Linked DNA regions of Homo sapiens: region 1 is linked to region 2. The links are contacts of gene promoters, found by promoter capture Hi-C in blood cells and fetal thymus (Javierre and others, 2016). All regions are on one chromosome and are shown on one strand. Each heading gives the region's core, a stretch centred on a gene start or on the middle of the fragment in contact. The rest is flanking DNA. Distances are from core to core; before and after follow the strand shown.

Region 1 (6,898 bases), core at 2,005-4,504, 380 kb before region 2:
AAAACAGCGTGACCATCTGACTCATGGGTGCATTCTTGTTTGCTCACTGCAATAACCTGTCTCCCACTTCTATTTTTTTAAGTTAATATTTGTAAGTTTAGGTCAGCCTCCATTTCCCTCCCTCCCTTGTCCTGGCTATACTTTGTACGTTTATGTAGTAGCGGTCTGTTAGGGAATTTCAGGTTAAAACATGAAGTTCCTTTTTGAATGTTTCTTTTAATTATACGAGATCATGACCCATGAGGGGTCTTTCGTTGTCTTAAATGAAAGCTACTATAGGAATAAAGTTTCTTCAAACAAGTTATAAATGCATACCTCCAAAATGCAGCCAGAAGCCCTCCTTGAAATCACTTATAAAAAGTTTAAAAAGGCTAAAATTGACTACAAAGTTATGGAAAATAGCTCCATTTTGTTTCTTTAATGAAACTCAGCATTGGGCCGGGCACGTTGGCTCACGCCTCTAATCCCTGCACTTTGGGAGGCTGAGGCGGGTGGATCACCTGAGGTCAGGAGTTCGAGACCAGCCCGGCCAACATGATGAAACCCTGTCTCTACTAAAAATACAAAAAATTAGCCAGATGTGGTGGCAGGCGCCTGTAATCCCTGCTACTCAGGAGGCTGAGGAAGGAGAATTGCTTGAACCCGGGAGGTGGAGGTTGCAGTGAGCCGAGATCGTGCCACTGCACTCCAGACTGGGCAACAAGAGCGAAACTCTGCCTCAAAAAAACAAACAGGCAGGGTGCAGTGGCTCACATCTGTAATCCCAACACTTTGAGAGGCCAAGGCAGGCGGATCACTTGAGGTCAGGAGTTCGAGACCAGCCTGGCCAACGTGGTGAAACCGTGTCTCTACTAAAAATACAAAAAATTAGCCGGGCGTGGTGGCACACGCCTGTAATCCCAGCTCCTTAGGGGGCTGAGGCAGGAGAATCACTTAAACCCAGGAGGTGGAAGTTGCAGTGAGCCGAGATCACGCCGCTGCACTCCAGCCTAGGTGACAGAGTGAGACTCTGTCTCAAAAAAAATAAAATAAAATAAAGAAACTCAATACTGGATCTGTGATCTCTCAAAATGCCTTTTCTATAATTGTTATTCTCAGAAGTTTTATTTTTGCAAAAAATGATTTAAAACTGTTAGATATCAGATTTTAAGGCCGGGCGCAGTGGCTCCCGCCTGTAATCCCAGCACTTTGGGAGGCCGAGGCGGGTGGATCATGAGGTCAGGAGTTCGAGACCACCCTGGGCAACAAGAGCAAAACTCCATCTCAAAAAAACAGACAGGCCGGGCGCGGTGGCTCACGCCTGTAATCCCAGCACTTTGGGAGGCCAAGGCGGGCGGATCACTTGAGGTCAGGAGTTGGAGACCAGCCTGGCCAATGTGGCAAAACCCTGTCTCTAATAAAAATACAAAAATTAGCTGGGCATGGTGGCGGGTGCTTGTAATCCCAGCTACTCAGGAGGCTGAGGCAGGAGAATCGCTTGAACCGAGGAGGTGGAGGTTGCAATGAGCTGAGATCATGCCATTGCACTCCAGCTTGGGTGACAAGAGCAAGACTCTGTCTCAAAAAAAAAAAAAAAAAAAAAAGTGTTAGATATCAGATTTTAAAAGGCATATTTTAAAATGACAGATTCGTTTTGATCCCCCAGCACCTGGTCTGAAGCTGCCTTCTTTCCCTCACCTCAGCACTGTTTTCATCCAGCTCAGCTGCAGCTAGGCAGGTGTGATCTTGGCAGTAGAGCCAAAAAGGCCTTCTCTTCTCCGGACTTGCTGAAGGGCCAGCCAGTGGGTTGGAATCTGCTGTCTGTGTTACGGATCTTATTTAGAGATCTCCTCCTTTGGCTGTCCACAGAAGGCTGAATGGGGGAGGCCAGGGAGTGTGTGCTCAAGTGTGTCAATCTGTCAGTGCCTTGCATGGGTGACCCACTGCAGGTTGCAGAGCTTCAGTGGTGAGCCTTGTCCTGTATTTGGGCTACTGGGTTAGCACCTGTGACTTGTCAGCTTGGGGCTCCTTTCTCCTTCCTGGCCAGCATTTTTTCCAATCCATTGTAGTTGCTTTGGGTCCTAAGCTGACTTTATGTGCTTCTTTTTAACCAAAGGCTGAGTCTCCACACTTTTTCTTTAGTTGTGTCCCTGGGCCCAGCCGTGTAATGGGATTTGTTGAGGATAGGCAGCGGCAGCTGGGGTGCAGAATTTTCTAAGATGCACATCTGTTCTGTTCCAGCTGTTTCCTCCAGTGGCTTAATACCGAACAGGTCTCTCGGCTACTTGGAAACTTCTTACTCAGAACAAATTGTTCTGGTTGATCACAGAGTTGGCCTAAAACATCATATGTTCACCTACTTTCCATAGACACAAAGGGTTAAACTGTTAGTCTTTCTGAAAGAGGCAAAAGAATGGGGTGGGGAGGGGCAATTCAGTTATTTAAATCATACTCATGTCCAGATCGCTCTGAGAAAAAGCAATACACGTTGAGGTATTTAGGTAGGAATATTTTTAAGAGCCTTCCAGCCCCTAAAAATAAAATACACATTCTTAGACACAGACTTCTTCCTGCTTTGACACTAGTGTAAAAACAATGGTAATGATAATTTTAAATACCTGAAGTTTTTAGTTGTCATCATTGAGCTTCATTCTTCTCATACCGTTACATTGCTCCTCTCACTCCGGGGGTGACTCTACCTCTTCACTTCTGTACTTTTGCCAAGAGGTGTCAAAACTGCTTAAAAAAAAAAAAAGCTTGATTTTGATTAATATAGAGAAACAAGACTTTGCCTGACTGATAATAAAACTGATAAATGACATTTGAATTACTTGTAGCGGTAATTTATTACATAAAATATCTTTTATTTGACATGCGATTAGTTGCTGGAAGCATCACTCAATCTGACTAGTTTAAACATGCTCCAAAATGAACCCCAGTAAAAACCAGGGCTGTCTGCTGCTGGCATTATGAAATATACTAATCCTGGAGTGAGGGAAAAATCTGACTTTAAATATTTAAATGATTAATTGGGTTTATATATTTTTTTACTTTTCTAACCCCCTTAATTACAAGCAAACTCAGGGGAGTTTCTGAACTAGGTGCACAATCTGCATGCTTATCACTGAGGCATTGTCTGCGTCGGGAGGGATTTATGGCCTCTATTCATGTGTGTTCCTGCCGATTTTACATCTAGATCCCCGGCAGCCTTTTCCTTCCCATTTCTTGGCTTTTTACGGACATTCCATCTCTGAGCCCAAGGCTAGAAAATGGGATCCCCTGGGCCTAGCCCCAAACACTCAGGTCTCAGGGTAGGGTAGCTTTTCCAAGACCACCCCAGGGAGCCCAGTGCTCTTCACCTTTGAACCTGCTGGCCCACCTGCTCAGTGGCAGGTGTGCCACTGAGTGCCTCTTTTGGCATCTCTGTTCTTTGGTGAATGTGGTTGACCTTGAGATGTTAGCAAATGCCAGTGTTGGCAGAGAGAACGTAGAGACCTGCCCAAATAGTAACAGTTCAATTTCTCAGTATTTTTATTAACCATCTACTATACGGTCAGTACTATATCATGCGAGAGATCCAAAACCTGATCTTTAAGCATCTTGCTAAGCTCTTTGGGAAAGATAAGATAAACTCTTAAGAAAAGGATAATAATATAAGATGTTGTGATTTAATGCCAAAATTAATTATACAGACAAGAAATTCTGAAATTCTGAAATATAGAAAAGAGAAGAATTAATGTGGGCTAGAGTCAGGGAAGGCTTTTGTGAAAGTGATAGGAGGTTGGCACCAAGGGGAAGCTTGGTGTCACCTGGTGTGAGCATAAACCAGTGCTCTCGGGGGCTAGAAGAAAGTTGGTACAGTTCAGGAGAAGTCAGGCTGTGATTCGAGAGAAGATTTGAAATTCTCCATTTCTCATTTTGGTTTCTTGTCTGGCTTTACATCGGGAGTCAGTGCATGTGTATAGGTGCAGGCCTAGCCCAGTCCTGAGCAGAGGTCTGATAAATGCTGGTTGATTGATTCACGCCAAGCTGATTTGTCTTCGTCCTCCCAGAGAGACCAAGAAGCTTTGAGATATAAGCAGGACCAGTGTAAATTTTGTAGGATAATAATTTCTTCTTAGATTTGAACATTTTCCCTCCACTGTCTTTGATAAACAATTTAAACCCCTTCAAAGACTGACCTAGAGCTTCAGTTGCTTCTTCTCAAAATAGGATGTCAGCATCTGAGGCCGGTGAAAGGTTTTGAACCATTTGATTAGAAATCCTGAGAGAGAGTGAGTTATTCCTCTGTTTATTTCTTTTGTAGCCCTGTGTAGTAACACAAACTTATCTGTGGTTATCTTAATTCACTGAGCAAGCATTGTTATTGAATGCCTACTGTGTGCCAGACCCCTGGGCTAAAGAGACTAACAAGACCTGGTCGCTCTCTCTGGTTGCTCCCGTCTGGTAGGAAAGACGGTTAGGCCAACATAGCAGTGCCTGTCAGGTGGTCCCGGTGAGGACGGTGGCACAGAAGAGGCGACGGGAAGCTTCAGAGAGCAGATGTCTAACTGGATGTGGCGGGCTGCTTGGTTCAGTGATCAGACAGGATAGACAAGAGCATTCCAGGCTAACACAAAAGCATATAGATGTGAAACTGATGAATTTAAGAAACTCCAGGTTGTTGGACGTGGCGCCTGTAATCCCAACTCTTTGAGAGGCTGAGACAGGAGGAGCACTTTGAAGCTAGGAGTTCAAGACCAGCCTGGGCAACATAGTGAGATGCCATCTCTGTAAAAAAATTTAAAAAACAAAACTAGCCAGGCATGGTGGTGCGTGTACTTGGGAGGCTGAGGTGGGAGGATTGCTTGAGCCCAGGAGATCGAGTCTGCAGTGAACCATGGTTGTACCCCTGCACTCCAGCCTGGGCTCCAGAGCAAGGCCCTGCCTCTAAAAAACCAAAAAGAAAGAAACTCTGAGTTGTTCAGAGTGGCTGGAGCATGGGATGAGAGTCAGAGGAAATGGCTGGAGAAAGGGTGGCTCTGTCAGCTCCGACAGAGGACAGCCAAAAGCACAGTGATGTTTTACTTTGAAATGCATCATCTAATTATTTTTGTGCCATACGACCTATTTGGCCATTTTATTCTTAGATTAATATTAAAATTATTTGTATCATCTCAGCAGGTGCCATGAGGTTAGTTAGGGGAGACATGGGTGGGGGGGCATCAGCCGGAGGCCATTGTTCTTGTGCCGAGCCTGTAGTGCCTACCCTGTGTGCTCACTGTTGTTCTCCATGGTTGGGCCAGCACTCGCTCCTCCAGGGAGTCTTTCCAGTGCCTCCATTCTGACTTGGAGGGAAGCTCCCCTCAGGCCCCTAGACTCCCCACCCCGCCCCACTGCACTTAAACATTTATTCCAGTGTCTCCCCTATTAAACTGTGAGTTCTGAGGCTTAAAAAAATCTAGTGGCCTGAGGCTCTGACTGAGCAGGTGTTCTAGAAATGCTTGTGGAATGGATTAACAGGGGTGGAAATGTGCTTGAGAATGGAAGGGCTATCATGTGGACGAGCTGCCCTGGTGGTCGGTCGGTGATACGGTCTGTGAGCCCAGCTGGTGCAGACTGCTCTGGGCAAGCTATGGAAGAAGTAGGGGATGGGACCCACCTTCAGGAGCTGCTGTTCATCGTAGAGGGAAGCCCTCCATTGCTTGGAGAAAGACAGGGAAGACCATCCCACGTCACCTTGCATGGTGAGAATGTTGAGAGCTTTCAGAATTTGAGAACAAAGGAAATTCCCAGAACGCTAGTCTTAGGCAAGGCTTTCTAGAAGGGGCAGGACTTGAACTGGCTTTGAAGATCAGTCAGCCATAAGGTAGACCCAAGGTGTCAAGGAAGACATCACTGTGGAGAGGGAACAGCAAAGGCCCGGGGCCAGGGTGGCCTGTGCGTAAGTGATACTGAGGTGACAGTAAACAGAAAGCATGCATGGGTGGCCTCGGGGTTCCCGTCAGAAAGCAAAATAGCAAATGTCGCCTCCACCTCTCTCTCTGTCTCTTCCATTTCTCTCTCATGCTTCCATTTCTTTCTCTGCTGGTTTAGCAGACAAATCTCTCTTTTTGCTACCTGAAAGTTACTGGTTTGTATATGAAGAAAGTATTTCTTTAATTTTGAGGAAATTGTGTTTTCTTTTGTCCGTGGTGCCGGTTTGGATTAGCAAGCACCCTCTCCATTTTGTTGCTGTGTGTTCTGCCTGGTGTGGTGCCACATGGGGGCTGAATAAATGCCATTCGCGGATGTTGAAGAGGGTAAGTATCACGGGAAGGAACCGAAATGAAGTGATCCTTTCCTTAGGTTTCTTGGACCATTACAAGTCTTTGGTGTTGATGGCAGTTAGGATTCTGGCTGTGCTGACAGTGTGTTAGTTTTAGAAAATTCTGCTACAGGTGACAGAGAACTCCAAACAAGAGTGGCTTAAAGAGAGAGGAATTTTTCTCTATTACATAAATGTAGGCAGCCCAGGCTGCCAGGAGGCTCTGTGGTCTGCAGGAACCCTACTCTGCCTCACTGCTCTGCATTCCTGACTGGCTCTCATCCGTCTCGTGGTGCAGTGTGAATGCTTCAGCTCCAACTATCCCACCTGCTGTCCAGCCAGCGAGAGCGGGGAGAAAGCGGGAAAAGGGCAGGCTGCCTTCTAAGGACACCTCTTGGAAATTGCCCATGTCCCTTCCACTTTCTCCCCATTGGCTGGATCTTGCATGGCTATCCTTGCCTGCGAGTGAGGCTGAGATGTAGTCCTGATCTCGTCAGCACATGTCCTCAGCTTTCCATATCCCATAGGAGGTTTGAGTTCTGATAAATACTGGGTTTAGGATAATGGTTGCCTCTGGGCTGGGGAGGAACACATGGCTAGCTTCAGTGGTATTTGGAAAGTTCTAGCTAGTAA
Region 2 (7,808 bases), core at 1,634-4,133:
ATGTTGGCCATGGCTGGTCTTGAGCTCCTGGCTTCAAGTTATTCGCCCACCTCAGCCTCTCAAAATGCTGGGATTACAGGTGTGGGCCACCGCACCCAGGGCAAGGATCTCACATTTTAAAAGACTCTTCGGGCAGCTGAGACTCCAACTATTTAAAATGACTGCAGGCAAGAACCTAAACTTCCCACAAAGAAGCTTTCCTTAGAGGAGTTCAGGAAATAATCCTGAAGCCAGAAGCTGGAAAGAAAGAATGACAGGGAGAGATTGGCAGAATGTGGAGCATTGAGAAAGCTCCTGCCTCCTGGCGGGAGTGAGGTTGGTTCAACCACTCTTGGGAACTGGTAGAATCTACTAAGACTGAACATTCCTCCACCCTTCGACCCAGCGCTTCCTCTCCAACTGCAAGGCAAGCACAAGGGCATCAGAGGACACGTGCAAGACTGTTGACAGCAGTGCTATTATTTCCTGTAACCTGGAAACCACCCCAGCGCCCAGCAGTGGTAGAATGGACCCATTGTGGTCTACTCCTACAATGGAATACTGAACTGCAATGAAAAGAAAGAAACTACTATTGGACGGGTGCAGTGGCTCACGCCTGTAATCCCAGCACTTTGGGAAGCGGAGGCGGGCGGATCACTTGAGGTCAGGGGTTTGAGAGCAGCCTAGCCAACATGGTGAAACCCTATCTCTACTAAAAATACGAAATTAGCCAGGTGCGGTGGCGCATGCCTGTAATCCCAGCTACTCAGGAGGCTGAGGCAGGAAAATCGCTTGAACCTGGGAGGTGGAGGTTGTGGTGAGCCGAGATCTCACCATTGCGCTCCAGCCTGGGCAACAAGAGCAAAACTCCGTCTCAAAAAAAAGAAAGAAAGAAAGTTAACAGTTTAAAAAGCAATGTGAAAAGGCAGGAATGGGTGCTGCATTTCCTTCTAGGGCTGCCCTCGTTGAGCCATTCGATTCCTGGGTGGGCAGAGGGCCAGGGCCTCAGGCCCAGCCCAGGGAGGCCAAATGCCAGGGCCCACAGTCTCCCCAGAGTGGGTTGGCAAAGAATGACAGGACTGGTTCCCCAGCCTGGAATCTAAGCTGAGCCTGCAGCCTTTGAGCTGGGAGGAGCTTGCGGCTGCCTGGCTGCCCCGCTGCCCCGCTTCATTCGCTGAATTCAGAAGCGCCTGTGGCGAGCCTCTCCCATGGACGGCCGGGTACCCGCCCTGGGCTCTGCTGCCTGGACACTGAGCCCAATGCGGAATTCCTCTCCCAGCAGCGGGGAGGCGCTATTATTAGTTGATTAATTTGCAAAACAAAAACCTGGCTGGGGCAATTGGTCTTGAAGGAAGGTTCTCCCAGAGCGAGTAAATCTGAGACAGGACCAGAAGAATAATCTTGGGGAAAAGGAAAGTGGCTGACTCTGGTGCTGAGTCCCGGCCTTGCCAGGGACCCCGACTCTGCTGTTACACAGGGAATGCTGTCTGGAATCGGCCCGGTGGCAGGTGGGGGGTAGACAGCTCTCCCCTCCGTCTGATGCCTGCTCCTGTTCTCCTCCTTGAGCATCAATCGGGAGAAAGATGTGGGTTTGGGTTTTTCCCCCTCACTTCTCAGACCCAGAACTGCCCCATCCCAGTCTGGGGGGAGACATGATGCTCCATCCCCCAAAGCTGAGCCCCCTCATGGGGCATCCAGGAGAAGGCAATGGGTCCCCAGGACAGGGCCCGGACCTCCCCCTTGCTCGCCCAGCCCCACAAAGCCCCACTCAGCTTCTCCACTGCCTTCATTGTCTACAGACTTCAACCTCACAAAACGCCCAACAAAAGCCCTGCAGTCCACGGCCCAAAGGCCACAAGCCAGCTATTGTGACATTCCAGCTGGCCTGGGAGGCTTCACTTCCCACTCTCAGGAGCTTTTTAAAGTATCTCTTAAAAATGCATCTCAGATGGGGAAAAGAGGTAGCAATTCTGTTGCCAAGGAAAATGAGATTTTGGCCAAGTGCAGTGAGTCATGCCCGTAATCCCAATACTTTGGGAGGCCGAGACAGGAGGATGGCTTGAACCCAGGAGTTTAAGACCAGCCTGGGCAACACAGTAAGACCCTGTCTCTACAAAAAAATTAAAAAATTACCAAAGTGTGGTGGCACATGCCTATGGTCCCAGCTACTCAGGAGGCTAAAGTGGGATGATCACTTGAGCCCAGGAGTTAAGAGATGACAGTGAACTATGATCTTGCCACTGCACTCCAGCCTGGGCAACAGAGCAAGACTCTATCTCAGGAAGAAGGAGAGACAGAGAGGGAGAGAGAGAGAGAAAGAGAAAAGAAAGGAAAGGGAAGGAAGGAAGGAGAAAGGAAGGAAGGCAGGGAGGGAAGGAAGGAAGGGAGGGAAGGAAGGAAAATGAAATTTTCTCCTAATCCTTACAATCGAATAGCTAGCGACCACAACTCCTATCATTTGAAAACTCCTTGAAATCAAGCATCTCTTGGTCAACTTGACCCCTAATTTGTTTTGTTTTAAGGACCCTCTAGGACAAGGAAGACGTGTTCTGTTTTCTCCCAATCTTCTGGAAATCCTTCCCAAGATGGGAGGACTGGAATTCCAGAACAAGGGATGACAGGAGCATGAGAAAGGTGGGAGAGACTGTGGCCGGACCTCACCTGAGAAAGTCAGCCCTTCCCAAGGCATCCATGCATCTGGGCCCCTCACCCATTTGGCCCCCTTCCCTCTTAGATGCAAGGCTTCTGATTCTGATGGAAGATATTTGGCTTCTTCAAGGAGTGTGGGCACACTAAGCATGCCACTGGCTTCTCCCAATTCCTGAATAAGGGACACTTACCAGGCAAGTGCTGGGGACCCCCACATCCTCAGGCCCAGCAGCTCTCTCCTGCCCTGGGAGAATTTAATCTGAAGCAGTTCCAAGCAACTAAACGAAAGGTTGGCTCCTCCCCTTCCCCTCCAGTGCAGGTCTCGGGTCACTCAGGTGCCAGAAAACACAGGTGGGTGTCAACACTCTCAGCTTCTCCCCATCCCTCTGCATGGGTGAGATGAATTGCTTCAGCCGTGGGAGCTCAAAATAAGATTGCGGATCAGAAGGCTGAAGATGAATTGATCCACTGAGGCTGGAGTGCAGGCCCTCATTCTCCGCTCCCGGGAGAAGCCTGTCTCTGTGCCCAAGGAAGGAAAGAAGCTAAGAAACTGAGCTTCACCGGAGGAACAGTCACGCTGTCTTGATGGGGCTTCCCAGAACCCTGCTCCAGGCCCCTCCTGGCAGAGTTCAAAAGGAGCTGAGGGGCCAGGCATGGTGGCTCATGCCTGTAACCCCAGCATTTTGGGATGCAGAGATGGGCAGATTGTTTGAGGTCAGGAGTTCGAAACAAGCCAGGGGAACATGGCAAGACCCTGTCTCTACAAAAAATTTAAAAACTAGCTGGGCATGGTGGCACACACCTGTGGTCCTAGCTACTCAGGAGGCTGAGGTGAGAGGATTGCTTGAGCCCAGGAGGTTGAGGCTGCAGTGAGCCCTGATTGTGCTACTGCACTCCAGCCTGGGCAACAGAACAAGACCCTGTCTAAAAAAAAAAAAAAAAGGGGCCGGGCACAGTCACTCATGCCCATAATCCCAGTGATTTGGGAGGGCGAGGCAGGCTGATCACCTGATGTCAGGACTTCGAGACCAGCCTGGCCAACATGGTGAAACCTTATCTCTACTAAAAATACAAAACTAGCCAGGTGTGGGGGTGCACGCCTGTAATCCCAGCTACTTGGGAAGTTAAGGCAGGAGAATTGCTTGAACCCGGGAGATGGAGGTTGCAGTGAGCCAAGATCGTACCATTGTACTGCAGCCTGGGTGACAAGAGCAAAACTCCGTCTAAAAAAAAAAAAAAAAAAAAAAAAAAAAAAAAAAAAAAAAAAAAAGACCAGGCGCAGTGACTCACGCCTGTAATCCTAGCACTTTGGGAGGCTGAGGTGGGTGGATCATCAGGTCAGGAGTTTGAGACCAGCCTGGCCAACATGGTGAAACCCTGTCTCTACCAAAAATACAAAAAATAGCCGGGCTTGGTGGTGGGCACCTGTAATCCCAGCTACTCTGGAGGCTGAGGCAGGAGAATCGCTTGAACCTGGAAGGCAGAGATTGCAGACAGCTGAGATCGTGCCATTGCACTCCAGCCTGGGCGATACAATAAGACTCCGTCTCAAAAAAAAAAAAAAAAAGGAAGAGGAGATTAGGGCACGGACACATACGGAGGAATGACGGTGTGAGGACACAGGGAGAAGATGGCCAGCTGTGAGCCAGAGAGGCAGCTCCGGAGAAACCAGCCCTGCCTGCACCTTGATCTCAGACTCCTAGCCTCTAGAACTGTGAAGAAATCAATTGGTGTGTAAATCCCAAGTCTGTGGTACTCTGTCGTGGCAGCCCTTGCAAACAAATATCCCTGCAAAATGAGGATTTAGGACTAGATGGTTCCTAATACCCTTTGCAAGTGAAAAAAAAAAAAAGTCTTGATTTTAACTATTCCATTTTATCTGTGTTTATCCCTTCCTCCCCCCGCCCCAAATACTTGCCATTATTGAAAGTCGAGGAAGCCAGGCACAGTGGCTCACTCCAGCCTGGGCAACAGAGCAAGATTGTATCTCAGGAAGAGAGACAGAGAGGGAGAGAGAGAAAGAGAGCCTGTAATCCCAACATTTTAGGAGGCTGAGGTTGGCAGATCACCTGAGGTCAGGAGTTCGAGACCAGCCTGGCCAATATGGCGAAACCCCATCTCTACTAAAATTACAAAAATTAGCCGGGCATGATGGCACACGCCTGTAATCCCAGCTACTCAGGAGGCTGAGGCAGGAGAATCGCTTGAACCCAGGAGGCGGAGGTTGCAAGTGATCCAAGATGGCGCCACTGCATTCTAGCCTGGGTGATGAGCGAAACTCCATCTCAAAAAAAAAAAAAAAAACCAGAAACTAATTATCTCCCAGGTTTAGAGGCCAGAAGTCCAAAATCCAGGTGTCAGCAGGGCCACGATCTCTCTAAAGATCCCAGGGGAGGGTCGTTCCCTGCCTCTTCCTAGCTTCTAGTGGCTGGTGGCAGTCCTGGGTGTCCTGGGCTTGTAGCTGCATCACTCCCATCTCTGCCTCCGTCACCAGCATATGGTATTCTTCCTGGGTGTCTCTGTCCACATTTTTCTTTTTCTTTTTTTTTTTTTTGAGAGAGAGTCTCACTCTGTCACCGGGCTGGAGTACAGGGGCACTAAGTGCTGGGATTACAGGCCTGAGCCACCACGCCCGGCCCCAATTTTCCTCTTCTTATAAAGACTCTAATTACTGGATTAAGGGCCAGCCTAATCCAGTATGACCTCACTTAACTTGATTGCATCAGCAAAGACCCTATTTCTAAATAAGGTCACATTCCCACATATCTGGGATTTGGCTTTTTTTTTTTTCTTTGAGACAGGGTCCTACTCTGTCACCCAGGCATGAGTGCAATGGTGCAATCACGGTTCACTGCAGCCTCGACCTCCTGGGTTCAAGCAATCCTCCTGTTTCAGCCTCCTGAGTAACTGAGAATACAGGCACACACCACCATGCTTGGATGATTTTTAAATTTTTTCTAGAGACAAAAGAGACCAGAGGGAACAGCCACGGTGGCTCACGCCTGTAATCCCAGCACATTGGGAGGCTGAGGTGGGCAGATCACTTGAGGTCAGGAGTTTGAGGCCAGCCTGGCCAACATGGTGAAACCCCATCTCTACTAAAAATACAAAAATTAGCCAGGCATCATGGCGCATATCACTCATTCTAGCTACTCGGGAGGTTGAGGCACGAGAATCACTTGAACCCAGGAGGCAGAGGTTGCAGTGAGCTGAGATCACACCACTGCACTCCAGCCCGGGCGACAGAGCAAGACCCTATCTCAAAAAACAAACAAACAAGAGACAGAGACCAGAGGTCTCTGAGATGGGGTCCGTACGAAAGATACCACTACGTTGTCCAGGCTGGTCTCAAACTTCTAGGCTCAAGTGATTCTCCTGCCTCAGGCTTCCAGAGTGCTGAGATTACAGGTGTGAGCCACTGCACCCAGCCTGTTTCTCTTTTTCTTTTCTTTTTTTGAGACGGAGTTTCACTCTGTCACCCAGGCTGGAGTGCAGTGGCACGATCTCTGCTCACTGCAACCTCCACCTCCCAGGTTCAAGCAATTCTCTGCCTCATCCTCCCGAGTAGCTGGGATTACAGGCACCTGCCACCACGCCTGGCTAATTTTTTGTATTTTTAGTAGAGGCGGGGTTTCACCATCTTGGCCAGGCTGAACTTAAATTCCTGACCTCGAGATCCACCCGCCTCAGCCTCCCAAAGTGCTGGGATTACAAGCGTGAGCCACCACACCCAGCCCTGTTTCTCTTTTTAACTCATCTTTTTGTTGACCAACTTTTCCTTTAATCCCAAATTGCTCGGGATTTATCATGAGCCGCCTAAGAAGACATGGAGTTGGAAGTGGAGACCCAGAGTGGTGCATGGAAGCTGGTTGTCACCAGGATCTGTTCACGCTCAGGTGAAAGGCCCTCATCACACCAAACAGAAGCAGGCAGGATCAGAACACACAGCTGGTGAAACCCTCACGGGCCCTGGAGGAGGCCCAGATGCCCTGGCCCACTTCATAAGGCCTCAAACAGAAACGCCAAAGCCAGGGCAAACATCACTGGTACACAGCTCACTCAGAGAACCTGCAAGGACCACCCTGGAGCTGTTGTTTAAATCTTAAAAAGAGAAGAAGAAACAGGAATTGAAAAACAGGTTTTCTTTCCTAATCTGATACCCTAAACCCCATTCCTCCTACACACACACGCACACACCTATAAACATAGCCACAGACATCTCTACACACACACCCTGAAACCCACCTACACACACAACCCTATACAAAACTCTTAGCATATGCCCCACACACTCCTAGAAATGCGCGCGCACACACACACACGCAGTAGGGGCTCCCGTCTTAGATATTTTTAGAGAAAGCAATTTCATTGGGGTCTTTCCAGTGGAGCTCAAATTTCATTTCTCCATTTGGGAAAATCACATTTTCAAAATAGCTTTCTTTTTTTTTTTTTTTTGAGACAGTCTCGCTCTGTCACCCAGGCTGGAGTGCAGTGATGCAATCTCAGCTCACTGCAACCTCTGCCTCCCGGGTTTAAGTGATTCTCCTGCCTCAGCCTCCTGAGTAGCTGGGACCACAGGCGTGCGTCATCAAGCCTGGCTCATTTTTTTGTGTGTGTTTTTAGTAGAGTCGGTGTTTCACCGTGTTAGCCAGGATGGTCTTGATCTCCTGACCTCGTGATCCACCCGTCTCAGCCTCCCAAAGTGCTGGGATTACAGGCGTGAGCCACCGCGCCCGGTCAAGAGTAGCTTTTATGCAATAGTTGGAAGCCGTGAGAATTGGCCAAGTCAGCCCCAGCACGGTTTTCCCCATGGTTTTCTTATTAACACCTTCCTTCTCTTGCAAATACCCACTGAGCTGGTTTTTCAAAAGCAGAAACCACTGACCCACTCACTGGTCTCCTTTGATACTTAGAGGTTAACGATTACTAAAAATATACATATTGATTCCAACTGCCAAGCTTCCCAGGCCTTTTCAGGATGTCCATCTTGCTGAGATCTGGCACCATTACTTACCACTTTTATGAGGAGGAAACCAACATTTAACCAAACTATTACCAGGCTTGCTGAAGTTCCTCCTGATCAGTCAGTTACAAACACACAAAATAACTAGATACTTGGTTGCCTGAGAGGCAGAAGGTGAATGGGCAATGCAGCCTGTTGGTGAAACACGGTCTTTTTT

The links. The method cuts DNA at HindIII sites, captures the fragments that hold promoters and counts their contacts. A CHiCAGO score of 5 or more calls a contact.
Region 1: a contact is called between a fragment that was not itself captured here and the fragment with the promoter of CIROZ in region 2, in 3 of 17 cell types (endothelial precursors, M1 macrophages and M2 macrophages). The highest score is 7.0, in endothelial precursors.

What each region holds. Positions count from the first base shown.
Region 1 is chr1:10,599,702-10,606,599 of GRCh38, forward strand. The region is part of intron 4 of PEX14 (peroxisomal biogenesis factor 14); the gene reads left to right. Among named protein-coding and RNA genes, the nearest start is that of PEX14, 130 kb to the left of the region's middle. RefSeq lists enhancers at 2,813-3,314, 3,315-3,814. The HindIII fragment of the contact is 1,042 bases long and covers 2,734-3,775 here.
Region 2 is chr1:10,979,193-10,987,000 of GRCh38, forward strand. It overlaps CIROZ (ciliated left-right organizer protein containing ZP-N domains), which reads right to left and starts at 2,884. Exons shown (of 13, transcript NM_001170754.2): 1 at 2,820-2,884. The coding sequence starts at 2,845. The HindIII fragment of the contact is 7,392 bases long and covers 194-7,585 here.